Regions from separate parts of the Homo sapiens genome. Here regions 1, 2, 3 and 4 are each linked to region 5. Evidence: promoter capture Hi-C in human tissues and cell types (Jung and others, 2019). All regions are on one chromosome and are shown on one strand. Each heading gives the region's core, a stretch centred on a gene start or on the middle of the fragment in contact. The rest is flanking DNA. Distances are from core to core; before and after follow the strand shown.

What was found. Contacts are between HindIII fragments. The study calls those that stand out against the background at their distance.
Region 1: a contact is called between the fragment with the promoter of CBR3 here and the fragment with the promoter of RCAN1 in region 5, in 1 of the 25 tissues and cell types used here (spleen).
Region 2: a contact is called between a fragment that was not itself captured here and the fragment with the promoter of RCAN1 in region 5, in 2 of the 25 tissues and cell types used here (dorsolateral prefrontal cortex and spleen).
Region 3: a fragment that was not itself captured here is called in contact with the fragment with the promoter of RCAN1 in region 5 in 1 of the 25 tissues and cell types used here (lymphoblastoid cells).
Region 4: a fragment that was not itself captured here is called in contact with the fragment with the promoter of RCAN1 in region 5 in 1 of the 25 tissues and cell types used here (lymphoblastoid cells).

The regions. Positions count from the first base shown.
Region 1 is chr21:36,130,654-36,136,328 of GRCh38, reverse strand. It overlaps CBR3 (carbonyl reductase 3), which reads right to left and starts at 1,250. Exons shown (of 3, transcript NM_001236.4): 1 at 848-1,250. The coding sequence starts at 1,136. CBR3-AS1 (CBR3 antisense RNA 1) reads left to right here. Exons shown (of 3, transcript NR_038893.1): 3 at 3,255-4,562. It also overlaps the pseudogene MEMO1P1 and the pseudogene RPS9P1. RefSeq lists enhancers at 276-445, 281-1,087, 1,088-1,895 and silencers at 596-765, 1,196-1,265. The HindIII fragment of the contact is 7,591 bases long and covers 1-4,043 here.
Region 2 is chr21:35,928,332-35,933,924 of GRCh38, reverse strand. No RefSeq gene overlaps it. Among named protein-coding and RNA genes, the nearest start is that of LINC01436, 74 kb to the left of the region's middle. The HindIII fragment of the contact is 9,246 bases long and covers 1-5,593 here.
Region 3 is chr21:35,954,608-35,960,028 of GRCh38, reverse strand. LOC101928269 (a long non-coding RNA gene) reads left to right here. Exons shown (of 6, transcript NR_110418.1): 6 at 5,204-5,369. Among named protein-coding and RNA genes, the nearest start is that of LINC01436, 48 kb to the left of the region's middle. The HindIII fragment of the contact is 8,113 bases long and covers 1-5,421 here.
Region 4 is chr21:36,036,529-36,041,734 of GRCh38, reverse strand. It overlaps SETD4 (SET domain containing 4), which reads left to right. Exons shown (of 12, transcript NM_017438.5): 9 at 1,080-1,160; 10 at 3,462-3,585. Among named protein-coding and RNA genes, the nearest start is that of SETD4, 21 kb to the left of the region's middle. The HindIII fragment of the contact is 4,974 bases long and covers 1,066-5,206 here.
Region 5 is chr21:34,612,195-34,617,334 of GRCh38, reverse strand. It overlaps RCAN1 (regulator of calcineurin 1), which reads left to right and starts at 2,222. Exons shown (of 4, transcript NM_004414.7): 1 at 2,222-2,575. The coding sequence starts at 2,324. RefSeq lists silencers at 1,988-2,417, 2,608-2,707. The HindIII fragment of the contact is 10,572 bases long and covers 1-4,714 here.

The DNA.
Region 1 (5,675 bases), core at 1-2,500, 1.5 Mb before region 5:
AGTAACTTTTTTTTTTTTTTCATACGGAGTCTCGCTCTGTCTCCCAGTCTGGAGTGCAGTGGCGCGATCTCGGCTCACTGCCTCCCAGGTTCAAGCGTTTCTCCTGCCTCGGCCTCCCAAAGTGCTGGCATTACAGGCGTGAGCCACTGCGCCCTCCTGTAATTTTCTTCAGTAGTAGTTAGAATAAGCAATCTCTTGATCCCCGCCCCTCTCCTTAAGGAAGATGCTTTTAAGACCACACGCACGTATTTTATAACAAACATAAGCTCCCCGGGCGGGGGTGGGGGAACGAGAAGGCTCGCTTCCTTTTTGCCAGAGCCTATCAAAGCTCTGCATTACACAAATTGTCAAGTCCACCAAGGGCAAGCGCGCGCTAATCCTGTTTTAGCGATTCATTTCCTTTCCCGAGCAAATGCCTCCGGGCATCTATGAATGCGCCCTTTCAAGGAAAGCGAAAGCCCAAAGCGAGCGGAGACCGTTTCTTTGCAGAGAAAATGTTTCTCGCGTTGGAAGGAAAGCTGATGAACTCTAGCAGGGCGTTGCCCCCTCCCAGGAGGCCAGTTTTCCTGCACACAACAGCGGCTGACAGTTCGGGGAGGGCCCCGGGCCGCGCACAGGCCCTCACAGGCCGGCGGGCGGGGCGCGCTGTTTGTCGCCCGGGCCCGCCTGGGGCTCAGCGAATCACGGAAAGCGAAAACCGCCTCGCGGGAGGCGTGGGCTGAGCGCATCCCTAGGGGTCGGCGCCACCCTCCTCGGTCACTCAAGTGGACGGGTGGGGAGCCTGCGGCTGGCCACCTCCGCACCCTCGGAGCGCTCCAGGGGGCCCCAACCCAAGCCCTGCACCTACTCTTGAAGGCGACGGCCGCGTTGTTGACCAGTACGTTGAGCCCCCCGTACTCCTTGCGCAGGAAGTCGCGCAGGGCGCGGATGCTCTGCAAGTCGTCGATGTCCAGTTGGTGGAAGCGCGGGCTCAGGCCCTCCGCCTGCAGCTGCTGCACGGCCGCCTGGCCCCGCGCCACGTCCCGCGCGGTGAGCACCACATCCCCAGAGAACTGTCGGCACAGTTCGCGCGCGATGGCCAAGCCGATGCCCCTGTTGGCCCCGGTCACCAGCGCCACGCGGCTGCAGGACGACATGGCTGAGCGGGGAGCGCGGGGCACCTGCGTGGAGGGCGGACCGGGCTTCGGACCACCTGGGGCGCGCCCCGAGGAGCCCAGCTAGTGTCAATGCCGCCGCGCAGACTAAGTTCTGGGATCCAGTGCTGCGAGTCTTAAAGAAAAAGGCCCCGGCTCCGGTCCCTCCCCTCCGAGGAGGGGCCGTCTGTGCCCTCTGTTCCAACTCCCGGGCCCGCCCCCTGCCCACGCTGCGCCCTTCAGGATCCGGGCTCTGAGCCGCGGGGTGATCTGCGAGGTGTCCGAAGCCAAATCGGACCTTGATGGGTCAGTCGGGGGCTCCAGATTCTTGGCAACTGGACTGAAGAAATTATTTTGGGAAAACCCCAAAGTGAGAAAAACAAGTGCTGAGTAATTTTCTTGGGTGTGCGCCCATCATGCACTGCAAAATGCGAATGTTTGCTTTTTCCTAAGATGCAGTGACTTACTTAGACACAGTAACTGCTTCTCTGGACATAGGTTGCCTTGCTTGCTTAAAAGGAACTCAAGAGAGGGAACTAGATGCCCTGTGAGCGCACTTAGCAGGTGTGGGCAGGCGACATCGCTCTGGGATTCCCAGTGAATGTGCCCCCAAGTGGGAGGGAATGTTTTTATTTAATCCTACCTAACTCCTACGGGTGCTAAAAGTGTCTGCATTTAGGTTTGTCCAGGGAGGATATAGATCTATAAAGATCTGGATTGATCATATGTTCTCACAGATCTGTGTACCGGCAAAGAAAGTTAAACCAAATTCCCAAAGGTGTGTCAAGCTGTGGGCACAAAATTAGAGTCTCATCCATCGTCTTCAGTGTAAACTGAGTTGTTTGATCAGTGACTTTGAGATTTGGGGAGAACCATGACATCATCACGACTCAGCCTTTTCCATGCAGAGCTGGCTAACCCGCCTGTGTCTCTGTTACTCTGACTCTACCTTCTCTCTCAAGTCCTTACTTGAGGTTCCGGAGGTGGGCCCCTGCTGTGATCTCCTACTGTGCCTCCCCCAGTATTTCCTTCTTTTTTCTCCTAAAGATCATTTGGTCCGGGCGCGGTGGCTCACACCTGTAATCCCAGCACTTTGGGAGGCTGAGGCGGGTGGATTACGCGGTCAGGAGTTCAAGACCAGCCTGACCAACATGGTGAAACCCCCATCTCTACTAAAAATACAAAAATTACCTGGGTGTGGTGGCACGTGCCTGTAATCCCAGCTACTTAGGAGGCTGAGGCAGGAGAACTGCTTGAACCCGGGAGGCGGAGGTTGCAGTAAACCGAGATTGCACCACTGCACTCCAACCTGTGCAACAGAGTGAGACTTTTCAAAAAAAAAAAAAAAGATCATTTGGAACCTTGTTTTAAGGATATGGGGCTATTTAGGCTTTCTATTTCTGTTTTTTTTTTTTTTTTTTTTTTTTTTAATAGGGTCTTCTCTGTCGCCCAGGCTGGAGTGCAGTGCTGCAGTCGTGGCTCACTGTAGCGTCAGTCTCCTGAGCTCAGGTGATCCTCCCCTTTAGCCTCCCTAGTAGCTGGGACTACAAGTGTGCCACAGTCATGCCTGGATAATTTTTTTTTTTTTTTTTTTTTTGAGACGGAGTTTTGCTCTGTCACCCAGGCTGGAGTGCAGTGGCACGATCTTGGCTCACTGCAACCTCCGAATCCTGGGTTCCAACGATTCTCCTGCCTCAGGCTCCTGAGTAGCTGGGATTACAGGCGCTGCCACTACACCCAGCTAATTTTTGTATTTTTAGTAGATACAGGGTTTCACCATGTTGGCCAGGCTGGTCTCGAACTCCTGACCTCGTGATCCACCCGCCTTGGCCTCCCAAAGTGCTGGGATTACAGGCGTGAGCCACCACACCCGGCCTGCCTGGATAATTTTTTATTTTATTTTATTTTTATTTGTTTTTAGAGATGGGAGTCTCACTGTGTTGCTCAGACTGGTTGAACTCCTGGGCTACATCGATTCTCCCTCCTTGGCCTCTCAAAGTGCTGGTATTACAGGCTTGTGTCACCGTGCCTGGCCTAGTTCTTCTTGAGTGACCTTAATTTCTGTTTTTCATAATTTTATTTTTTTAAATAAAGCATTGATCCTGTTTTATCATTTGGCAGGAAAACTAGACAATCCACCAGCCCAGGAGGGGACAAGCAGGCTTATTCCTCCTCCTCGTCATCTCTGGCTCCAGCCCCACCCTGGCCCTTGCTGGCATTCTTCCTCTTCACGTGGCTGGGGTTGGCCACCCCAATAGGGAAGCAGAGGGAGAAGTCAATGTGCTTCTGGGAATCCAGGCGGACAGTGAAGAACAGGATATTTACCACCTGCTCACGGACACGGATATGACACTGTTGAATCAGCACATGAGCGTGGCGGATGGACTTAGCCAAGCCAAGCTTGAAGACCTGGGTCTGTAGGAATCTCTAAGAAATCATTGATCTTCAGGCCCAGGATGTAATCCAGCTTCATCTTGCCCTCATCCAGCACCCCAGTGCGGACCAGCCACTGCAGCAGGGCAATGCCTTCGAACAGACGCCGTGGGTCCTTCTCATCAAGCGTCAGCAGCTCCCGGGCGGCCTTATGGATCTTGACCAGGGTAAATTTGACCCTCCAGACCTCACATTTGTTCTGGAGCCCATACTCACCAATCAGCTTTAGCTTTTGGTCGAGATGAGGTTTCTCGAAGGGTCTCTGCAGGGTCACATAAGTTTGGCAACAAACCCAGCTCTGGGCCGCTGGCATGTTGGCTCCACTTGCCCGTCTATGCCTAAGCACAGGCCCTGGTCACTGAGAAAGAGCTCAAATTTTTTATATATTTCATCTAAGGTGTTGATTCTATTGATACCCTTATCCTTTTAACATGCCCTTATCCTTTTAATGTTGGTAATGATGCTACCTGTCATTTCTGAGACTGGTTTGTGTCTTTCGTGTTTTTTTCTGATCTGTCTGGCTAGAGGTTTACCAATTGATTTGATTTTCCTCAAACTTCTGGTTACAATGATTCTCTCTCTCTCTCTTTTCCTGATTATATTAATTTCTGTTCTGATCTTTGTTTCCTTTCTTCTGCTTACTGGATTTTATTTGCTCTTTTTCTGGTTTCTTACTGTAAAGGCAGAAGTCATTGATTTGCATTGATTTGAGACTTCTTTTCTAATGTAGGCAGTAAGTGGTGTAAATTCCCTTTTAGTATGACTTTAGTGGCATCTCACATTGATATGTTTTCAATTTCATTCAGTTTATTTTTATTTATTTTTTAAATTATTTATTTATTTATTTATTTTGAGTTGTGTAGCCCTTTATTAGCAACTAAAATAGAAGGTATCTGTTGTACAACATGGGTAGTAATTGACTATAACTGGAGATTTATTATATTCTAATACAGATCATTTATAAATGCAATTTCTTTATTAAAAAGCTTCCACCTTTTTGTTTGTTTGTGTACAATTTGCAAAACTATTCTGAAAGCGGAATATATGTGCACAAGTCTGCAAAGAGTGCAAATTTAGGATATGGTAAATGCTTTACAAGTTACTTTCAAAAAACTGTCTGCCATAACTGAGCCTTTACATTGTCATCTTTTTTGATCAAAATATTTTGATGCCAGCCTTCCTTCCACTGCCCTAAACTATAAAGCATTTTTTAATGAGTTGAAATTAAGGAAGGACTACACCTACTAGAAAAAAAGAGAAGAAAGTTCTATTAGTTTGAGGTTTCAGAATCCCCCCAAACCAGGACCAGTATCGTGGTAAAGGCTAGGCTGGGAGCCCGGACAGAGTATGAGAATGTGCAGGTGGCATCCCTGAGGATTCAGAGCTTCAGTGGACCGTGAGTGCTCCAGCTGCATAACTCACTGAACTGTCTTGCCAGTTTCTACACTGGCTCGACTGGGCATAATTCAAAAACGAAAAACTCATATTCATTCCATTCTTCTGGAGCTCTGTGATAGCATTTAATAACACCCCAATGGGATGTCTTCCACATATAGTATTATGGTATTTCTTCAAGTAATTGCTAAAAGATACAGGGTCTAATTGTTCTATAATACTCATACCCATTTTATCTAGATGTTCAATGGATCTACAAATCTCCCCCTGGGATTCATCATAGTAACTGTGACGGAACCTTTGACCCCAATGGCAGAAATCAGAAGAAACCACAAAGAGATTACTAGGATCCGCTAGATATTTACTGAAAAGTTCCGAATTCCTGTTCTTTTGACTCAGAGCTCCAACCAGTAAAGGAATAATGGTAAACTCATCCTTATGGCTTTCCATGGCTTTAGCTGTATAAGGCAAATGCATTTCAATACTGCGTTCATCTTCATCTGTCTGCAGAGACATGCGTTCAAACATTCCTGTCTTCCATAGTTCTCCGTAAATCTTTTGGTCAATACGAAGGTCATACAGGGGTGTCCTATATATATCCACACTGGAAAGTGCACATCGAGAGAGGGGCACATGATGAGAAGGCCCAAGGATGAAAATTCTCCGGGTAATAGACGGATCCACTTGTTTATAAGCATGGGCAGCACAAGACCC
Region 2 (5,593 bases), core at 747-3,246, 1.3 Mb before region 5:
TGGGCTCATCTACTCTTTCTCTCAAGATCCCTGGGTCCAAGAACTGGTCAACCCTCTCCCAACATGATTTTGAGCTAAATTATCTATTGCCTTTTTTTTTCTTCATTCCTTTCCTTCTTGAAAGATGTCTACAGTCTGCCTTGGTCCTTTAGGGGTCAGTATACCCTCTTTCTTTCTCACTCTCTGGCTGGCTATTGTCGTGTGTGTGTGTGCACACACATATGTGATTCAGTGACTTTCTCCAGAGGCGCCTGGCTTGAGTGAGTTGGTTCTGTGCCATTGGGAGGAGGATAGTTTCTTCCCCACAGGGGCAGCGCTGCTCTGACTTAGGGAGTTTAATGTCTTGTCAGATGTTGATGCTTTTACTTCCCTTCCTGTTTCAACTGGAATGAGTCATATTTGAAAATATTTTCATCCTTTTAGTGACTATATTGAATAACACACATTTTTCATTATTATTTACTGCAATTAACCTTAACCTCATTCTTTTCTTCTTTTAAACATTAGCACAGTTATTTCTATTATTATCTAGGTTCCCTCTGTCTCTATACTTAGCTTCATTAAAACGGATTGCAGCTTAGATAGGTTGAGAAACAGTCTTTTTTAATTTCTGGAGACTCAGCTTTCATTAATGCAATAATGAAAACTATGGTGGGAGAGTGTAGATAGTTGGCTAATAGATTGTCCCAACCTATTTTAGATCGGCTTTCTCCTCATTTGTCCTCCCCTAAACCAAGCTACTTATAAATGTTCTCCAATTCTGAGCTCTTTTTTTTTTTTTTTTTTGAGGTGGAGTCTCACCCTGTCACCCAGGCTGGAGTGCAGTGGCATGATCTTGGCTCACTGCAATCTCCACCTCCCAGGTTCAAGCGATTCTCCTGCTTCAGCCTCCCCAGTAGCTGGGATTACAGGCATGTGCCACCATGTCCAGCTAATTTTTTTTTTTTTTAAGTAGAGATGGGGTTTTGCCATGTTGGCCAGGCTGGTCTCGAACTCCTGACCTTAGGTGATCCGCCTGCCTTGGCCTCTCAAAGCGCTGGGATTACAGGTGTGAACTACCACACCCGGCTGCGTTAATTAAACTTCCTTTACTGCCCTGAGCTATTCTTATGACATTTCTTTGAGACAGGACAAGTGACTCAGTCTCTTTGTAATTTATTGAGTTCTTTGATTAAAAGAGACCATTACCAGCTAAAAATTCTACCCTCTGCCCTCGCTTTCACATCCTTCGAATGGATAAAGGGAAGATCTGTACAACACAGCCAGATATCAATACTGCTGCATCGTGTGCCTGGCTTCCTGGTGGTAGCCACCTGCTGCTTAGAAACTGTTTCAAAGGGGAACTGGCGTACTTCCCTTTTAAGCAAGAGTTACAGCGCAAAAGCTGCCTCAGTCATAATTTCTAACGTAGTCATCTCCTCTTTATAAGTGCACTTCCTCAGAGACCTGTGGACATAAACTGAATGTGTTAGGCAGAGACCTTTCAAAATTTAGACTTGTTTTCTGGACAGATGCCAGATTTCCTGGATGGCTGGTTACAATCCCCTTGTCCACCCGCGCAGTGCAGCTAAGATTGTCTGTCTGAATCATCATCCTTTTTTAGTGTGTACTTAAAGTGGAAGTGATGTTTTCCAGACCCTGTGTAGGAATGAGCTCATGTCATGAGGTTTTGCTCTGATGTTGGTTTCTCTCAGTTAGTTTAGTGACATTAGGATCTGAAGGCCGACGAATGGCTTTGATACCATTTTAAGGTGTCTTCCATTTCCAGTACTCCAGGATTATTGGGAAATTACTGGGGAGATGAAGACATTATGTAAGGTGGCAGGTCAACCTACTAGTTATTCACAGCCATTGGAAGATACTATGGGACTGTTAATAGTATGTGCTGAAAAGACTTCTCTCTTGTTGCTTTAAAAAAATGTAGTTTATTTACATGTATATTGACTTCTTTATGGTCCTATCCTAAGTGGATAAATGGCTGAATTCTATTTTTCTGCTAAGATTTTAGGCAGGAGAGTATTTTTCATGAATGTCTTGTAAATCATTAGTAAATGTTCTCTGACAAAGGGTTCCATGGCTAGATAGGTTTGAGAAATGCTGGGGAAGAATATGATGATGTCACCCGTAGGACATTTACATTGCTCTTCCTGATGCTGATATACAAATATATGTCTGTTTAAATTGATTTAATGATCTAATAAAAACTAAATTTCTCCTCTGAGAAATTGATGAAAACAACCAACCGTGAATATCCTAGCAAACTGTTTTCATGTCTGTTTTCAGATAAGCATTCCCTGAAGAATTTTATTTATTCATTTGTTTATTTGTTCATTGAACACATATCTATTTTGTGCCTTCTCTGTGCCAATACTTAGGGAAACGCTGCACCTTAATGAAAAGAAGGCTGTGGCAGACATGGCTGGTCTCAGCCATCCCTTTCCTTTAGTAAAGTTGAGTCCAATGCAGCCCAGAACAAAGGTTATGTTTCCCAGCTTCCCTTGCAGCAAGAACTGCCACATGGCCCGTGGGATGTGACCTTGAGGGCTATGTGCAGAGTTGCTGTGGGGCCTCTATGCACAGGCTTAGGTATGCACAGGTATGCACGTGCTATGTGTTTTGGATGGCAGAACAGCAGGACAGGAAGAGCGGGAACTCTGATACTATGGAGTGTTATAACACTTTGAATATTTATGATTAGACCATATTTAAAATAAATAAACTATTATCAATTTAAGTTACTGTTACTTTGACCTTTTTTAATGATAGCCAAACTAATAACCTAACTGATCCAGAAAGGATTTTCAATGATCAGGCATTGTCATAAGATTCAGTAGGCACATTTAGGAGCTTTTTTTTTTTGAGATGGAGTTTCACTCTTGTTGCCCAGGCTGGAGTGCAATGGCGTGATCTTGGCTCACTGCAACCTCTGCCTCCCGAGTTCAAGCGATTCTCCTGCCTCAGCCTTCCCGAGTAGCTGGGATTACAGGCATGGCCCACCACGCCTGGCTAATTTTGTATTTTTAGTAGAGACAGGGTTTCTCCATTGTTGGTCAGGCTGGTCTCGAACTCCCGACCTCAGGTGATCCACCCACCTCAGCCTCCCAAAGTGTTGGGATTACAGGCTTGAGCCACTGTGCCTGGCCACATTTAGGAGCTTTTAAAAGTCAAGCAGTACATAATGACCATCTCAGTTTAGATAAAAGGCCTGAATATAGAAGGGTAACTTTTGTGAGCTTCTGAAAGTTCTCATTCCTACATTTTGAGAGAGGAAATGAAAGACCTAAGGAACTGAAATTCCTTTCAGTGATGGTGGAGAGAGGCCCATGTTCTTTTCACTGCTTTAGCCAACATATGTAGAGAAATAAGGCCAGGTTTTCATATGATGTCTGAATTTGCCCAGTTAGTCCAGGGGGGACAGGCGCTCAACATAGATTCAAGGGTTTTAAAATAATCAACATTTATTTTTCAAATTCCTTCTATATATCTTTGTAAAACAAATTCTGGCATAGCAAACTTCCTTCTTACCAACAGGCTACCTCTATCCACATAGTGGGCATATGTAAACACACGAGTATATATATTTAGATGTGGGTTCGGCATAAAATAGCTTTTTCTTCCTAAGTAAGGAAAAGAAAACCTCAACGCATTACTAAATGTGACATTTTGGATCCAAGTAGACAAAAAGAACCACGTGAAAATGTGCTAAGCTTCCACATAGTTAGCAACATGTCACTTTGTGAGAGAATTTTCATAATTAATGAGCCAGGTCAATTTGCTCTGCATTTGACTTTGATGAATATGTCGTGGAGTATTCCCACTGGGACTCTTTCCAGTTGGTTTGGGAAGCTCTTATGTCTATATCCTGTGTGTGTGCATGGATCAAAGTGCTGGCATCTAATGCTGCCATGTTAGGTTAGGGAACAGCCGTGCGAACCCAGTAACAATGCCTGAGATCCCACACTGGCCCAATACATGACCCAGATGGACGGACCCCAAGCCAACAAACATAAAATTGAAACCAAAGCTATTTGGAAAGGGGATTGGACCACTCATCTGGCTGTTTTATAGAGTCTTAGAGAATTTATGTAATTAAATTTTCCTTCCTAATTCTGGCATTAATTTGTTTATTTATGTATTTTTTAAGACACAGCCTCATTCTGTTGCCCAGGCTTGAGTGCAGTGGTGCAATCATGGCTCACTGCAACCTCTACCTCTCAGGCTTAAGGGATCCTCCCACCTCAGCCTCCTGGGTAGCTGGGACTACAGGCGTACACCACCATGCCCATCTGCCATGAATTTAGAGACTGAATGAAATGACCTTAGCATTACCATATCATCTTTTTAATTTATTTTTTATTTTTTGAGACAGAGTCTCACTCAGTAGTGTGGTCTTGGCTCACTGTGATCTCCACCTCCCGGGTTCAAGCGATTCTCCTGCCTCAGCCTCCCGAGTAGCTGGGATTACAGGTGTGCACCACCACACCTAGCTAATTTCTTTTTTTTGTATTTGTAGTAGAGACGGGGTTTCACCATGTTGGCCAGGCTGGTCTTGATCTCCTGACCTCGTGATCCATCTGCCTCAGCCTACCAAAATGCTGGGACTATGGGCATGTGCCACCATGCCCATCTGCCATGAATTTGGAGACTGAATGAAATGACCTTATTGTTACCGTATCATCTTTAACCATCTGATTAACATTTGCTTCATAGCAAATACAGTGTGTGGGGATAAATTATTTGCATGATAAGTTATCAGTCAGTGTCCAATCAGTGCATTATTCTGTCTAGAAACCGCTGTAAATATTTCAGAGAAGGAATTTCATACAAATTGGTGGTGCATGATTTGAGAGGAACGAAGGAGTAAATACAGGGAGTCAAGCTTACTTACAGATTGGTAACTGCAGGAAGTCACTATCCCCCTAGGCTTGAAAGCCAAAGAGAACATGATGCTTGCTGATCCACCAAGATTGTTGCTATTAACACTGAGCTGACCCAGCAGAATCCCAGAAGCCACCCTTGCCAGCCTTTGCTGCTGCCACCACCATCTCTAGAGGCACTACCAGAAGATGGAAAAAATAGCATCTCCCTTGCTTCCACCTCCAGTTTGCTACTAGTGCCTCCCATTGTAGAAGCTAACAAGAGGCTGATTGGCAAGAGGGATTTGGAAAATGTAGTTTCCAGGCTTTCTGCTCCTGGGTCACAGGGGAGGAGAAAGGAGAGAGAGTGGAGCTGAGAATAAGAGACTTCAAGCAGCACACAAGTGTTTCCAAGGATATATTCTATATACATTTAAAGTAGGTGTACATTATCTGATTACATTAATGAATGAATCTTTTTTTTTTTTTTTTTTTCCTGAGATGGAGTCTTGCTATGTTGCCAGGCTGGAGTGCAGTGGCACAAATCTCAGTTCACTGCAACCTCTGCCTCCTGGATTCAAGGGATTCCCCTGCCTCAGCTTCCTGAGTGGCTGGGACTACAGGTGCATGCTACCATGCCCAGCGAATTTTTGTATTTTTAGTAGAGACAGGGTTTCACAATGTTGGCCAGGATGGTCTCTATCTCTTGACCTCGTGATCCACCCGCCTCGGCCTCC
Region 3 (5,421 bases), core at 1,799-4,298, 1.3 Mb before region 5:
TTGCTGCGTAGGGACTGAGGAGATGGGGCGGATATGTTAGAGAGGGAGGGGTTACAAACATGCAGGATCTTGTCAAGCATGAGGGATTTTGTGATGAAAACTGGATTGGAACCCACTAGAGAGGTTTAGACTACAGTGGAACAATATGATCCCATTAATTAATTAATTTATTTATTTATTTGAGAGGCGTCTCACTGTTGCTCAGGGTGGAGTGCGGTGGCATGATCTTGGCTCACCGTAACCTCCACCTCCTGGGTTCAAGCGATTCTCCTGCCTCAGCCTCCCGAGTAGCTGGGATTACAGGCACATGCCACCACGCATGGCTAATTTTTTATATTTTTAGTAGAGACGGGGTTTCACCATATTGGGCAGGCTGGTCTTGAACTCCTGATCTCAGGTGATCCACCCACCTCGGCCTCCCAAAGTGCTGGGATTACATTTATGTTTTAAGAAGACCACTGAGGACTCTTTAGAGAATGATGGGCGTGTGGAGCAAGAGTTGACTCAAGGAGACCAGCTGGATGGTCCATCGTTAAAGAGTAGGCAAAATGTGACCTTTACTTGGACCAGGGTGGACATTAGGGTTAAGAGAAGTGGATGGATTCAAGAGAAAATGAAACCAAGAAGACTGGGTGATGTGGTTGTATAGGAGTGAAGGAGAGAAGTTGTCAAACATGGATAGGTTTCTGATGAGTACAATGGAAGAAATGGGGTTTCCATTTCCTGAAAACAACAACAACAACAAACCCACACATTAGGGCAGGGTGTTTTCTGGGGAACACGTTGAGTATGAGGGTTCTTGGGCTTTCTGGCAGTTGCCTGTTTTCTTCTGGTTCCTCTGAAGGCTTAGCTGTTAGTCTTCCTTCATGTTTTATAATTCCTTTGTTTTTAAAGGGCTGCCCTTCTATTGCTACTCTCTTCACTGCTTCCGTATTTACAGGGATCTTTTCCTTTATTTTCTCTCGGCCTTCCACAGAATGATTTTGGTAACTTGAGACTACCTTGGGGAATGCAGCCATTATATTTTCAGTCTCTCTGTGTGGCAACACTACCACCGATATTTTCACAGGTTCTCGGTTTGCTAGTGCTGTTTTTGTTTTTTCCTTCTCAACCTTGAAAATACAACACTAACACAATTTTTTGCATCCATGGAAGAATCAGTGGCATCATTGGAAGTTTCCTAAGGGGAACACTTTTCTGTATGAAAAGGAAAGGATGGGAAATTGCTTTATGATTCAAAAGCTGGCATAAACATTTGTTATTATTTTTTTAATCGTGGTTTATTCCTGCATAAGTTATCCAACCATGGAGCCACATTCAGTCAAGGGCATTGTGACCTCTGTGGGGAAACAGAACAACCTGAACACCTGATGCAAACTTTCTGGCCTGAAGGCAGCTCCAGTGACTGATTTCCAACAGATCTGTAAGGACAGCTTGTTTAGAAGTTGTGTCTGCTCCTAGCACAGGTCCTGCAAGGTCTGTTTTTCAAGGAATGAATTCTTTCCATGTTTCTGAATGGAATGGATAGCTACACTTTCATTTGGTCGGTAGTGAGGTATAGGCATGGAGAGATGACAGTTGGTGAGAGAATGAAGCATGAGAGTTTAACAAGGGCCTAGGCAGGCTCAGATTGCTAGCCTTCAGGTGTATTCTATTGGGCACTATGGAGGATATGAGAATGGCCTCAGATCTATGACTGCAGTTGGCATCGTTGACCAACAGCCCCAGCTGCTGTGCTTTGAAATCCATCACTGATCGGCCCGAGACCTTGCTTTTCATGACTGAGCAAGGTGGGATACCCAGACAGGCCTGTTTCTGGGAGAGGTGATGCCTCTGACTGTGGCTTGATGCCTCCCAACTGGCCTTGTAGAACTTCCTGGAGAAATGCACTGTAGTTGAGGAAGCATCTAATTCACCTTGCTTCCTTCCCTCTCTCCTTCATGCAGGTCAGACCTACACGATGGTCTAACATCTCTAGTAGCCTGCTCCTCATGTTGTCTCTGTTATGGACTGAATGTCTTTGCCCCCCAGATTCATATGTTGAAACTCTAATCTCAATGTGATGGCCTTTGGGAGGTGATTAGGTCATGAGGGTGGAGCCTCATGAATGGTATTAGTTCCCTTTAAAGACACTCAGAGAGTTCTTTTGTCCTGTCTTGCCATATGAAGATGTAACAAGAAGTCAGCTGCCTGCAACCCAGAAGAGAGCCCTCCCCAGAACCTAACACTGCTGCTGGCATCCTGATGTCCAACTTTCAGCCTCTGGCACTGTGAGAAATCATGTTCAGCTGTTAATAAGCCACCTAGTCTATGATATTTTGTTATAGCAGCCTGAATAAGAGACTCATAGGCGCTTCTCTTAATAAATTACTTGTACATTGAATCCTGCCCTGGTTTATGCTTTTCAGAAGATCCTGACTTGATTAAAAATTCAGAAGATTCCTTGATTAAAAAAAGTGGGCAGGCATGGTGGCTGACACCTGTAATTCCAGCACTTTGGGAAGCTGAGGCGAGTGGATCACTTGAGGTCAGGAGTTTGAGACCAGCCTGGCCAAAATGGTGAAACCACGTCTCTACTAAAAATACAAAAATTAGCTGGGTGTGGTGGTGCATGCCTGTAATCCCAGCTACTTGGGAGCCTGAGGCAGGAGAATTGCTTGAACCTAGGAGGTGGAGGTTGCAGTGAACTGAGATTGCGTCACTGTGCTCCAGCTTGGGTGACAAAGGAAGATTCTGCCTCAAAAAAAAAAAAAAAAAAAATTTAGAAGGTACACATGCAGTCCCACTGTCTTACCCCTTCTGTCTTGTATTCAGCCTGGTTCACATGTTTATGTTACATGTCTGACTTCTGTAGGTGTTTGATTTTATTTCCTAGGTCTTGTATTATCTTTTATAGAATAGTAGAGACAGAGAAATAGGGAAGGATTGACAAATTGGGAAAATATGACTCTGTTGGTGTATTAGGGTTCTCTAGAGGGGCAGAACTAATAGAAGATACGTATATATATGTATATGTGTGTATATATATAAATATATGTATATGTGTATATATATGTATATGTGTGTGTGTGTGTGTGTGTGTATATATATATATATATATATATATATATATATATATATATATATATATATGGTCTGAGTCCTAAAACTGAAGAACTTGGAGTCTGATGTCTGAGGGCAGGGAGCATCCAGCACGGGAGAAAGACGTAGGCTGGGAGGCTAGGCCAGTCTTTCCTTTTCACGTTTTTCTGCCTGCTTTTTGTTTGTTGGCAGCTGATTAGATTGTGTCCTCCAGGTTAAGGGTGAATCTGCCTTCCCCACCCTACTGACTCAAATGTTAATCTCTTTCGGCAACACCCTCACAGACACACCCAGGATCAATACTTTGTATCCTTCAATCCAATCAAGTTGACACTCAGTATTAACCATCACAAGTTATATGAAGTTAAACTTTTTGATCTTTTGAAATTTATCAAATTTGGATATCATTATCATTCAACATACGAATGATCCATCTAACTTTTACATTTTAGCAATTCATTTAAATTTTTTCTATTTTAATTTAACCTGTGAGTCTATGGAGTTTTCTCAAAATTAGAAAGTTATAGAATTAATGATGCATTTTGCCTTTTGTTAATACACATAATTGTTGAATAGCCAAGTTCTCTTCAGTATTTGTAAAGCCTTGGGTTTTATGTCCACGAATCCTGACTCTGCCCTTGGGAAGAGGTGGATTAAACAATTCCCTTTTGGTACATGGTGCACATGTAGTAGAAATTGTCATATGACTTCAGTAAATAACTTTCTGAAGTTTCCAAACAACAAAAATAGCTTCCCAACAACAAAAGTAGTTTCCCAGCTACTCTTATTAGCTGGGAAAATTTATTAAATTAGCTTATTAAAATTTCCAGTAATTATTTTTATAAAAGAATTTTCTGTATTATTTCTTTCCTTCAAAGCAACTAATCAGCTCAATTATTCTCCTTGATTTGGGATTTATTAGAATCTAAGCTTTGTTGTTGCTGTTGTTAGCCAGAAAGAGATGGCCACACCTCTATCAAGTTGGGAGAACAGAACCATTAGACAGAGTGGATTTTCTCCACCTTAGAAAGTTTTCCCTCCACAAAGAACATGAATGCATCCAGGACCAACTACGTAATTTTTAGGGCTCAGTACAAAAAGAAAATGTGGATCTGCTTGTTGAAAAAGCAGAGAAAAAAATGCTGCTAAAGGTACTAAAATATAAAGTTTTTCTTTTGGTTTTATGAATCTCTTCTGCTCATATGCATGCTCCACTGTCCCAAGTTCAAAGGTAAAATTGGAAAGAATTTCCAGACGGCCACAGCAGAGCATGAAACCAAGCTTGGGACTCTTCTGAGTATGGGACCCTGGGTGTGACTACAGCAGTTCCCATGGAGCTGGCCCTGGATACAACTCACCAGCAAGCCACGAGCAAGCTAGAAGCCAGAGGGAACATTACCCCTCTTCCCTCTGGAGTTTCAGGTGGAGGTGTGGGCAGGGATCATGGTAGCTGCCTGAGTCTGGGCTCCCAGGTGACATGGAAGGCACGGTGCTTTGTATCTGATGTTGGAGAACAGGAGCAGTTTTTCTCTCTCTTCTTTGTTCTCGACTCACCTGGGCAGTGGCTTCACCACACTGTCTATCTTTGTGGAGAGAAGGGGAATGACTTGCTCATGATGGGCAGCGGTATTTTGACTTTCCATTGTAAATACTTGATGTATACGTCTCATTATATTTATTGAGTGCTGGCTCTATGTTGGCTTCTGTTCTAGGTGTTGCTGGGATCTTCCTGTCCTCATGGAGCTTACATTCTCATGGTGGGGAGGCGTGGAATAATCAAAAGGGAGGAGTAGACCCAATGTAAAGAATGTCAAGCATGGGAGTGCTATGGAGGAAAGCAGGGTGGAGAAGGGATGCAGATGTCGGGGCTGCTGGTTTATAGTTGTCAGTAGGGTGGTGAGGGAAGGTCTCACCAAAAGGTGACACTTGATGATGAACTGAAGAAGATAAAGGAGAGAACCATGCTGACCTCTGGGAAAGAGTGTCCGGGACAGTGACAGTCAATGCAAAGATTCTGTGGTGGGAGCAGAGAACTTTGTTCTTCATTGACCTTGCATGAGTTTTTGGTGTGATTTTAGCACATGAAGATCTATGTGAAAACATTCTTTCCCTCTTTTTTAAGGAGAAAAGCAGTCCTTCTGGTACTGGCTGGGTGTGGTGGCTCACACCTGTAATCTCAGCACTTTGGGAGGCCAAGACAGGAGAATTGCTTGAGTCCAGGAGATTGAGACCAGCCTGAGCAACCTACGGAGACCCCCCTCTCTACCAAAAAAAAAAAAAAAAAAAAAGAAAAATAGTACGCCTCTGTCCTTGCAGTTAAAGATGAACAAGGAAGAGTTC
Region 4 (5,206 bases), core at 2,303-4,802, 1.4 Mb before region 5:
CCATGGGGGTGAGACCCCTCCTGACCCTGTATCAGCTGACGGGTAGGTATTGAGCACTTACTATGTGCAGTAAAACTGCGCTTGATGTTGTGGAGGACAAAAGGAGTATAAGACACTTGAAAGAAACTTCTTTAGGGACATAAGATACAAGCTAGAAATATTAAATTATGGTACCAAAAGAGAGCTTGGATGTGTTGATGGGTGGCCCAGGGTGAGTCTGTCTCCCTTGTGGTCATGTGGAAAGGCCAGGCTGGGCCTCAGGAGAGCCCACGCACCTGGCAACATGGTGCAGGCTCTTGGGGTAGGTGGGTAGCGAGGTGATTCCATGCCAAGTGGCTAAACAGGGTTCAAGGCTCTCCCTTTCAGATTTTCTTTTCTGGATGAAATGAAGTTTGAAATGATCCCGCCATGGTGTGAGAGCAGCCTGGCAGTGGTGGCTGCCATCAGTGGGATGCCCAGGGTAGTTCCAGTTCTTAAGCGTTTCTCTTACTGGGAACTCCTGTGCATGGGCCCTGCCTCCGGCCCCTCATCCATGGTTAAGCTCTTTTTTTTTTTTTTTTTTTTTTTTTTTTTTTGAGAAGGAGTCTTGCTCTGTCGCCCAGGCTGGAGTGCAGTGGCGCAATCTCAGCTCACTGCAAGCTCTGCCTCCCGGGTTCACGCCATTCTCCTGCCTCAGCCACCCAAGTAGCTGGAACTACAAGTGCCTGCGACCACGCCCAGCTAATTTTTTGTATTTTTAGTAGAGATGGGGTTTCACCGTGTTAGCCAGGATGGTCTCGATCTCCTGACCTCGTGATCCACCTGCCTTGGCCTCCTAAAGTGCTGGGATTACAGGCGTGAGGCACTGCGCCCGGCCAGCTGTTTACTCTTTAGAAAAAAAATGGGGAGAGAATTTCCTGTTACTTAGGCTTTCTTCTTAAGTATTTGCAGACTGATTTTCTCTTGTCCTTTGGCCGAGGTTGCAGGTTACATGACATTTAGCAACCTCTTTAAAAAGGTGTTTGGCTCTTCAGTCATTTGCTATGAGGTCATGAAATACTGAAATGATGGATTTGTCATTATTTGTTTTTCTACTTCAGAAATTTGACATTTGGATGGGATGGACCATCTTGGAGGCTACTCACAGCCCTTAAGTTGTTATGTCTGGAAGCTGAGAAATTGTAAGTTTCACATGTGTTGGTCTTAAGCTGTAGCAACAGGCTAGATATAACTTTGGAGGGTTGGTTTGTTTGTTTTTGGCTTGCATTCAGATACCCAGCCAGGGAGGAAAAAGGGATGTCATACATTGGAGTTGCTTTCTCATTATGTAACTTGCCCATGTAGCGAATGTTTCATTTCTAAGTTTTAACCGTTTTGGAATTCTGGTTTTAGACTCAGCATACATAGTTTTGATAATCTTTTTGTTTCTACTCATATTTTCCTTCTGGTGACCTGAAATCCTTTAAAAAGTGTGGGCATTGGCACTGTTCAGAGGAAAGTCTCTGAGTAGGTAGGTTTTGCCCAGGACAAGTAGAGCTAGAGTCCCTAACGTCGGTCCTGCCCTGGGGGAGATCCAGAAACCTGGCTGAAGAGCTGGACTTTTCCATGGGGGAGGCAGGTCGGGGAGCCCCCGGTGTGGGTGTGCATCCTGGCCAGGCTCCCTCATGTTCCTGCCTGCTGTCAGTCCTGCTCCCTGCAGCCCCCTGTCGACACATCCAGCTGTGCTGTACCCAGTGTAGGGGCAGCTTCAGCCTGAGTCCCTGGCAGGGAGAGCAGCCTTCAACCTTCTGCTGCTAGATATCCAGGGAGAACCTCTTGAAGATGGTGCAGGCTGTCCTTGAACAGTTGGGAGGACTGACTGAGATGAGGCACAGTGCCTGGGAGCAGTCGGTGCCCCTTCAGTGACGCCTGTTCTTCTTTTGGATGAGATGATGTTGCTTCCTTCTTTTTCTCTAGGAACTTTTGGAGTAAAATTTCTCTCTGGTCTCAACACTAGACATAGTTTTTGTTTTTATTCTTAGCAAATGGAGTGTTTTTATCTTACAGATACTATGAATTCTTTAACCGATGTTTCCTTCTTTTCCTTGTTCACTGGAAAACTGAGAGGCAAATCTGAGGTGCATGCAAACGTACCTAGTGTTGGGACATGCGGTTTCGCACTGGCCCATTCCTGCAGTGTCTTGTCTTTTCTCCTTTTGTCTTCCTTTGTCTTGTTTTCTGCCTTCATTCATCTTACCTTTTATTTTGTGTGTACTTATGTTAGCTTCTTTAAATCCTTCTGGCAACAAGGTATGAGTCCTTTTCGGACACTTCAGCCTAAAATTAAATACAACAACTGGCTGTTTCCCAGAGGTCTTCCTTAGGCCTCTTTTCTTGCATTTGAGTTACCGCTTACTGAGTGGGTGTGGAGAAAGCACGTGTGGGGCTCTGGCTGGGGCGTTTCAGTTCTTTCTGCCTCACTAGCTCTGTCACTCAGGGTGAGTGCTTCAACTTTGCTGAGTGTTTCTTTGAGTCTAGCATGCGGATTATCGTGCTTTCTTTGCTAGGTAACTGTGAAGATTAAATTAGGTAATGGTTATTCATGAACACCATGCCTGACACACAGTCATTTCCTTTTTCTTTACTGAGAACTCATTTCACCTGTCATCTCTGAAACTGAAGCCTTCTGAGACTATTCCGGGCTGTGTCTTGCCAGCTGTTCTGAATCTAATGGGCTCCTGTTTACTTCCACAGCAGCCATCTTTCCTCCCCTTCGAAGCCACTTCCACTTCCAGATTCTCGGTGTTCAGAATCCGGTCCTCCGTCGTCTTTCTCCCGGTAGTTCTTCTTTCTAGTGTCTAGGTCTGGCGCTGCCACCTCTGCTCCGCATCCTGCTGTGGCTCCCTTGCACCTGCCACAGCAGACCTTCCAGAGTGGGCCCTGCCTGCTGACTGAGCCCCGTTTCCTGCGAACCTTTGTAGTAGAGCACTGGAATGACCTGCATGGGGATAGAGGCTTGCTGTAGATTCCTCCTTCCAGACATGGAGCATTTGGCTTTGTGAATTGTGCCCAGTTTGCTACTATTTTGGACAGACGGTCACTTGAAGGAAAACTTCTGCCTTTGCTCCTTAGTCCTCTGCCTTTCGGCTGTGGACTCGCCCTCCTGTTCTGTCACTGGCTTCGTTCCCATGGCCGGGAACGGGACTTCATTCACTCATGGGTCAGACACAGGTTTGTGATGATAATAACATTCAGCCCTTGCCTGCAGAGAGTACCCACCCCCCGTGCTTTTATTCTCAGCTCCTCCTCCTCCTCTCTCATTACCTGGTCGGCTTCCACATGGGAGCTGCAAGTGGCATGGAGGTTTGGGGAATCTGCTTATGGAATGAGTTGTATTATGCTCCTGGAGAAATAGGAGAAGGAGTTTATGTGTTGCACTGAAACAAAAAAATCTGTTTTTTGAGAGCCTGCTAAAATTGTGTCATGGAACATTTTGGTTCTAGTACATGCTGGAAAAAAGTACTTCTTGGGGAGGTAATTTCAGATACGAATGAGAAGACAAGTTTGGACATAGCCCAGAAAATATGCTATTATTTCATAGAAGAGACTAATGCTGTGCTTCAAAAGGTATGTTTCTAGAATATGACATCCTTAAAGAAGTGTCTTGATTCAGCAGTTCCTTGTTTTGTACATGTTATTAGGGATAGTGCATTTCATAAGAGCATTGTTTAGTGCCTTAAATAAATAAATGTTGATGTAATCTCTATTTTTGTTTTCTTTGAGATGGAGTTTCACTCTTGTTGCCCAGGCTGGAGTGCAATGGCACGATCTTGGCTCACTGCAACCTCCACCTCCCAGGTTCAAGCGATCCTCCTGCCTCAGCCTCCCGGGTAGCTGGGATTACAGGCACCCGCCACCATGCCCAGCTAATGTTTGTATTTTTAGTAAAGACGGGGTTTCACCATGTTGGCCAGGGTGGTCTTGAACTCCTGACCTCAAGTGATCCACCCGCCTCAGCCTCCCAAAGTGCTGGGATTACAAGTGTCCACTGCGCCTGGCCTGAACCACCGCATCTGGGCTCCATTTTTGACTGTTAACATAGTACCTATGCTTTTTCTCTCAATTTTTTATTTTTATTTTTTCTTTTTCTTTTCTATTTTTTTTTTTTTTTTGAGACAGAGTCTTGCTCTGTCTCCCAGGCTGGAGTGCAATGGCACGATCTCGGCTTACTGCAACCTCCGCCTCCTGGGTTCAAGTGATTCTCCTGCCTCAGCCTCCCGAGTAGCTGGGATTACAAGTGCCCGCCACCACATCTGGCTAATTTTTGTATTTTTAGTAGAGACAGGGTTTCACCATGTTGGGCAGGCTAGTCTCAAACTCCTGACCTCAGGTGATCCGCCCACCTCAGCCTCCCAAAGTGCTGGGATTACAGGCATGAGCCACTGCACCTGGCCTCTTTATTTTTAATTGGTCAGTAAAAATTGTATATATTTATAGTGGACTACATGATGTTTTAAAATAGGTATACATCGTGGATGGCTAAATCAAGCTATTTAACATATGCATGATCACATATACTTATTTTTTTTGTGGTGAGAACACTTAAAATCTGCACTTAGCAATTTTCAAGTACATAATATATTGTTATTAACTGTAGTCACCACGATGTACCATAGATCTCTTGAACTTAATCCTCTGGTCCAGCTGAAATTTGGTGTCTTTTGATCAACATCTCCCTAATCCCTCTCCAACCCCTCAGCCTCTGGTGACCACAATTTGACTCCCTGCTTCTATGAGTTTGATGATTTTAGAGTCCATGTATAGTGAGATCATGCAATATTGGTCATTCTGTGCTGGCTTATTGCCGTGTGACAGCATGTCCTCCAGGTTCATCCACGTTGTCACAAATGACAAAATTTCCTTTTTTATAAGGCTGAATGTACTTCACTGGGTATATATGCCACTTTTTCTTTATTCATCTGTTGATGAATACTTAGGTTGATTCCATATCTTTGCCTTTACTTTTTATTAAAAGGCAAAAAGTAAAAGTTACTGTGTGACTTCAAGCATTCTTTCTCATTGATGTGTTTATTTAGTAAATGTTTTAGTTAAATGAGAAATCAGCTTATTCGTATGAAAACATGCCTGGGATTTAAAGAGTGATTTTAATGAAGCTTGAAGACATTATTGGAAATGAAATAAGCCAGACACAAAAGGACAAATGCTGTATGATCCACTTCTGTGAGGT
Region 5 (5,140 bases), core at 973-3,472:
TAATGATGCTATGAGCTTTTGTGTACAGATTATTGTGTGGGCATATGTTTTCACTTCTTTCTTTCTTTTTTTTTTTTTTAGACTGAGTTTTTGCTTTTGTTGTCCAAGCTGGAGTGCAGTGGCGTGATCTCAGCTCACTGCAACCTCTGCCTCCGGGGTTCAAAAGATTCTCTTGCCTCAGCCTCCCGAGTAGCGGGGATTACAAGCATGTGCCACCACGCCCAGCTAATTTTGTATTTTTAGTAGAGACGGGGTTTCTCCATGTTGGTCAGGCTGGTCTGGAACTCCCAACCTCAGGTGATCTGCCCGCCTTGGCCTTCCAAATTGTTGGGATTACAGGCGTGAGCCATGGCTCCCGGCCGTTTTCATTTCTTTTAAGTATATACCTAGGAGAGGAATTGCTGGGTCATATGGTCACTCTACATAGAACTTTTTGAGGACTTGCCAAATTGTTTTCCAAAGTGGCTGCGCCATTTTACATGCCCATCAGCAATATATTGTGAACCCTGAAAATTTGAGACAGGTCTCAATTAATTTAGAAAGTTTATTTTGCCAAGGTTGAGGGCATGCCCATGACAGGCCTCAGGAAGTCCTGAGGACATGTACCCAAGGTGATCAAGGCACAGCTTGGTTTTATACATGTTAGGGAGACATGAGACATCAATGAATGTATGTAAGCAGTACATTGGTTTGGTCTGGAGAGGCAGGACAACTTGAAGCAAAGGCAGGAAGACTACTGCAAAGGCAGGAGGCAGGAGGGAGCTTCCAGGTCACAGATAGGTGATAGACAAACGGTTACACTCTTTGGGTTTCTGATTAGTCTTTATAAAGGAGGCAAATCTGTCTCGGTGAAATGCATCTGTCTCAGTGAGCAGAGGGGTGACTTTGAATGGAATGGGAGGCTGGTTGGCTCTAAGCAACTTCCAGCTTTAGTTTTCCTTAGTGATTTTGGGGGCCCAAGATTTCCCTTTCACAGTATGACGGTTCCAATTTCTTCACATCCTCATATCATATTCTATTTTATGAGTTATCTCTAGATGGGTATTATTATTCCTCTTGGGTTTAGCTCCCTGAGGACACAAACTGTCCTAAGACTATGATAATAGTAATCATAGAACCGTGCACATGGCAAGTTCTGAATAAATCTCAGCTGTTGGATATACTTTTTGTTATAATTACTAACACTTCCTAACTAGAGAGTAAGCCTACTCTAAGAAAAAATATAACTGTAATTTCACAACCTCCAAAGAACCCAGTGCATAAACAGCTACCATTTATTAAGCACTGACTGAATTCTTAGTAATATGTCTTCATTTTTTTCAGATGAGGAAACTAAGATTCAGCTTATTTGTACAAGTAGTTAAAAAGCAAAGCTGAAATTCAGACCCAAGTTCTCACTGTATCATACTGTCCAAAAAAGAATTCTATTTTTCAGGAAGAGACATGTCTGCTCACTTGAGGTCCTCTTATTTTTCCGCTATTCCCCAAAGGAAAGGGGTGATCTCTTAATTCTTTCGTTATGTCCTATTGTACATAGCATATAATGGTAATTCAGAAAAATTACTTCTAATTACATAAATTTTCACAATGGTATAGTGACTAATACGCTGAAATAGAAAAGTAAGGCATTGTTATCATGGTCTAGTTCAGTCTTTATTGCGACTATATCTGATAATATACGGTAAGCATCTAACCACTTGCCAGGGGCCACAGAGCCACAGGGAGACTATGTCTCGCTTAAATTCCCAAAAGTGGGCCCCTGTGCTTCAAAACGTCCCCGCATGGGAACCACAAAAACGTTGCCTCCCCAGTTATCACCCCAAGGGCCCAAGAGCCGAGGACTCTGCCCGGCGTCCTTCAGCTGGCACCAGCTGTCAGAAAAGCGGAACTGGGGACGAGGACTTTGCCCCTAACCAACATGGCCGCCCTGAGGCTTCGGGCTTCGGGCGGCAGAAGGAAGGTCACGTGAAGAGAATTCCGTTCCTTTATTGGCCCCGTCTCCTGGAAGGGCGGGGTACAATAACCCAACCGGCGCCGGCCTTAAAGGGGCCACCGTTGGATCTGCCGGTGGCCGGCCCTAGGGGCTGGGGGGGCGGTCGCCGCGCCGGGCTTCTGCCCCTCCCGCGCGGAACGGTGACGGGCGGGGCTGGCGCTGGGAGGCCGTGTCGCTGGGAGACTGCTGACAGCCCGCCGCCTGCCGCCGCGCGATTCCGAGGGGGTTAACGGCGGAGCCGCCGGCCGGGCGCGGACCGGAGCGCGTGAGGCTCCGGCGCGCAAGCCCGGAGCAGCCCGCTGGGGCGCACAGGGTCGCGCGGGCGCGGGGATGGAGGACGGCGTGGCCGGTCCCCAGCTCGGGGCCGCGGCGGAGGCGGCGGAGGCGGCCGAGGCGCGAGCGCGGCCCGGGGTGACGCTGCGGCCCTTCGCGCCCCTCTCGGGGGCGGCCGAGGCGGACGAGGGCGGCGGCGACTGGAGCTTCATTGACTGCGAGATGGAGGAGGTGGACCTGCAGGACCTGCCCAGCGCCACCATCGCCTGTCACCTGGACCCGCGCGTGTTCGTGGACGGCCTGTGCCGGGTGAGGACCGCGCCGGGCGGGCCGTCGGGGCGGAGGGCGGACACTTGTTGCCCGAGGAGGCGGCGCGGGTCGCAGCGCCCAGTCCCGGCCGCGCGCGGGGCGGGGAGGCAGCGACGTCCCCCGGGCTGCTCGGCCGCGGACCCGTCAGGGCTGGGGCGTGGGGACGGCGCCCCGAGGGTCCCGGTCCCCTAGCACCCCCGGGGCGCGCGGAGCTCACTGCAGAGTCCCACAGGCTCGCCCCGGCCCCCGTGTGCGCCCAGGCTGGTGCGACTAGGGGGGTGAATTCGCTCCCCAAGGTGGGGCAGCGCCGCCGCCCCCTGCGCTCTCGCCATCGCCCCGCATTTACTCGCTGGAGGAGGGGGTCACCTCATTCCTAGGGAGGAGGAAACAGACATTGAGCGGCGACGTGACTCAGTGTTCATAAATAGGACGACGTCCCTGCATTCCCAATCTGCACTATTGGAAGAAAAGCCAATGTTTGGGTGAGGATCCGTGGTTGCTCATTAGCCAGCGGCTGGCCAGTTTTGGTGGAATTGTGTTGGGGGGAAGGGGACCATCTTTCAGACCTTTAGGATATTTAGTCAAGAACCTTGCCCCCTTGTGTGAAGGTGTGGCTTGCCGCCATCGGGGACACCCAGTACATGGGGAGTCGACTCCTTCCCCCGCCTCCCCCCACCCCCGCAAAATCCACACAATTTAGACACTTTGGAGGGTGAGGGGCAGGTATGAGTAATCAATAATGGTGGTGGGGAGGAAGAATTTATTTCAAATCTGCAGTTATTGTGCAGAATAAAATGTGGACAACGTGGGCGTCACAGAATGAAACCGGTCTTTGAGAGATGCCCCATTAGGAGAGCAGCTGTCAAAAAAAGCAGTGCTTTCAGCGCTTGGCTGTGGGTCCACAAATGCTGTCAATGAACTATAGTTGAAGGCTGCTGCCAATACAACACCACTGTGAAACAGAATGGTGTATGTAAGTGTCATTTATTTATAATTTATATGTTCACTTACTTTCTGAAAGGAATTACAATGGCCGTGTGCTTAGGTAAGCTTCCAGGCATGCTTTCTAGAGCAGCAATTGTCAGGAACTCAGGGTCTTACTGATTGATCTTACTCTAAAACCTTTTCCTCTCCATATAAACTAAGCGCTAGCCAGCATTTCAGACCTTTTCCTTAGGAGTTCTAGGCTGTCTTTCTGCTAGAACAAGGTCAAGTCACGTAAGACGGCACTTACTTGTAGTGTTGGAGACAATTTTTTCCAGTGTTGGATACAATCCTGAAATTGTGTTGTATGAAAGTTTGCCCACTTCGCTAGCTATTCATTTTAACAAATATTTATTGAGACTTCGCTACGGGATAGGTACTGTCCTAGGCTCTGAGGCTGCATCAGTAAATAAAATAGCATTTCTGCCTCCAGGGTTGACATTTTTTGGAAGGGAAACAAGCAATAAAGAAATATCAAATGTATCAGAAAGTAATGATGCTATAGGAAAAAATAAGACTTGGAGGGCAGGAGGAGGGAGTGGAGATCTGGGAGTGGAGGGGAGATTGCTATTTTCCATAAGATGATCAGGGAAGGTCTTACTGATATGGTGATATTTTGAGCAGAGACAATGTAGCATTGGTTCATTCAGGCTTTGCTGTCTATTGAGTGCTTACTGTGTTCCAGCCACTGGTTTAGGCCCAGAGGATAAAGCAGGGAACATTTCAAGCTCCTTGCTTTCATGGAGCTTAGGATCCAGTGGTTGAGGGGGAGATAGACAATAGGAAAAAGGCAAGTGAACAAGATCATTTCGGATAGTGATAAATGCGATGAAGAGACTGAAACAGGGATAGAGAGCAAGGGGAGGGGGCTTGGTCAGAGTGGTCAGGTCCTAACACTGTGGGGGTTTTGTTGAAGAGCTGGTGAATTGGGGCAGTCCTGAGGGAACTAACAAGGGATGTCCAGGCCTGCAGCCATGAGCAACAGCTGGAAGCTGGAGCTGGGGGAGGAAGTCACGTGGCTGGAAACCTAGGGGAGGAGCTGCCTGCCAGGAGCTGTAGACTTGAAGGTGTGGAGTTGAGATGCTAAGGCAGGGTACAGGCAGGGAAGAAATTCTCAGGCTTCTGATTTCATTGGCAGAACTCAAAGGACAGCTAGGAGGCAAGGGAGCCCCTGCAGTGGAGTCCATAGGTTGGGTCATCCTTTCAGGGCCCACAGAAGGGTAGATAATGGCTCTGGGGACAGTGTGGATAAAGGGGACTTACACAGAGGAGTTAGTAGGGAGCCACTTTAGATGGAGTGGCCCAGGGAGGCCTCTGCACAGCCTGGACCAGGTTGACAGGAAGAAGCTCCCTGGGGAGGTGTTTGTGTGGCCGGCATCCCGGCAGAGGGACTAGCAGGTGCAGAAGCTCCAGTGCAGGGTGAACTCCATTTTTAAAGGACTTGAAGGGTTGCATGAGAGACAGAGAGGCGATTGGTAGCTGAGGTTGGATAAGCAACCAGAAAACATCCCCCTGGGGCCATGGTAAGGATTCAGGTGTGATTCTAATTGCACATCTTGGTGGAGAATGGCTTTCAGGAGG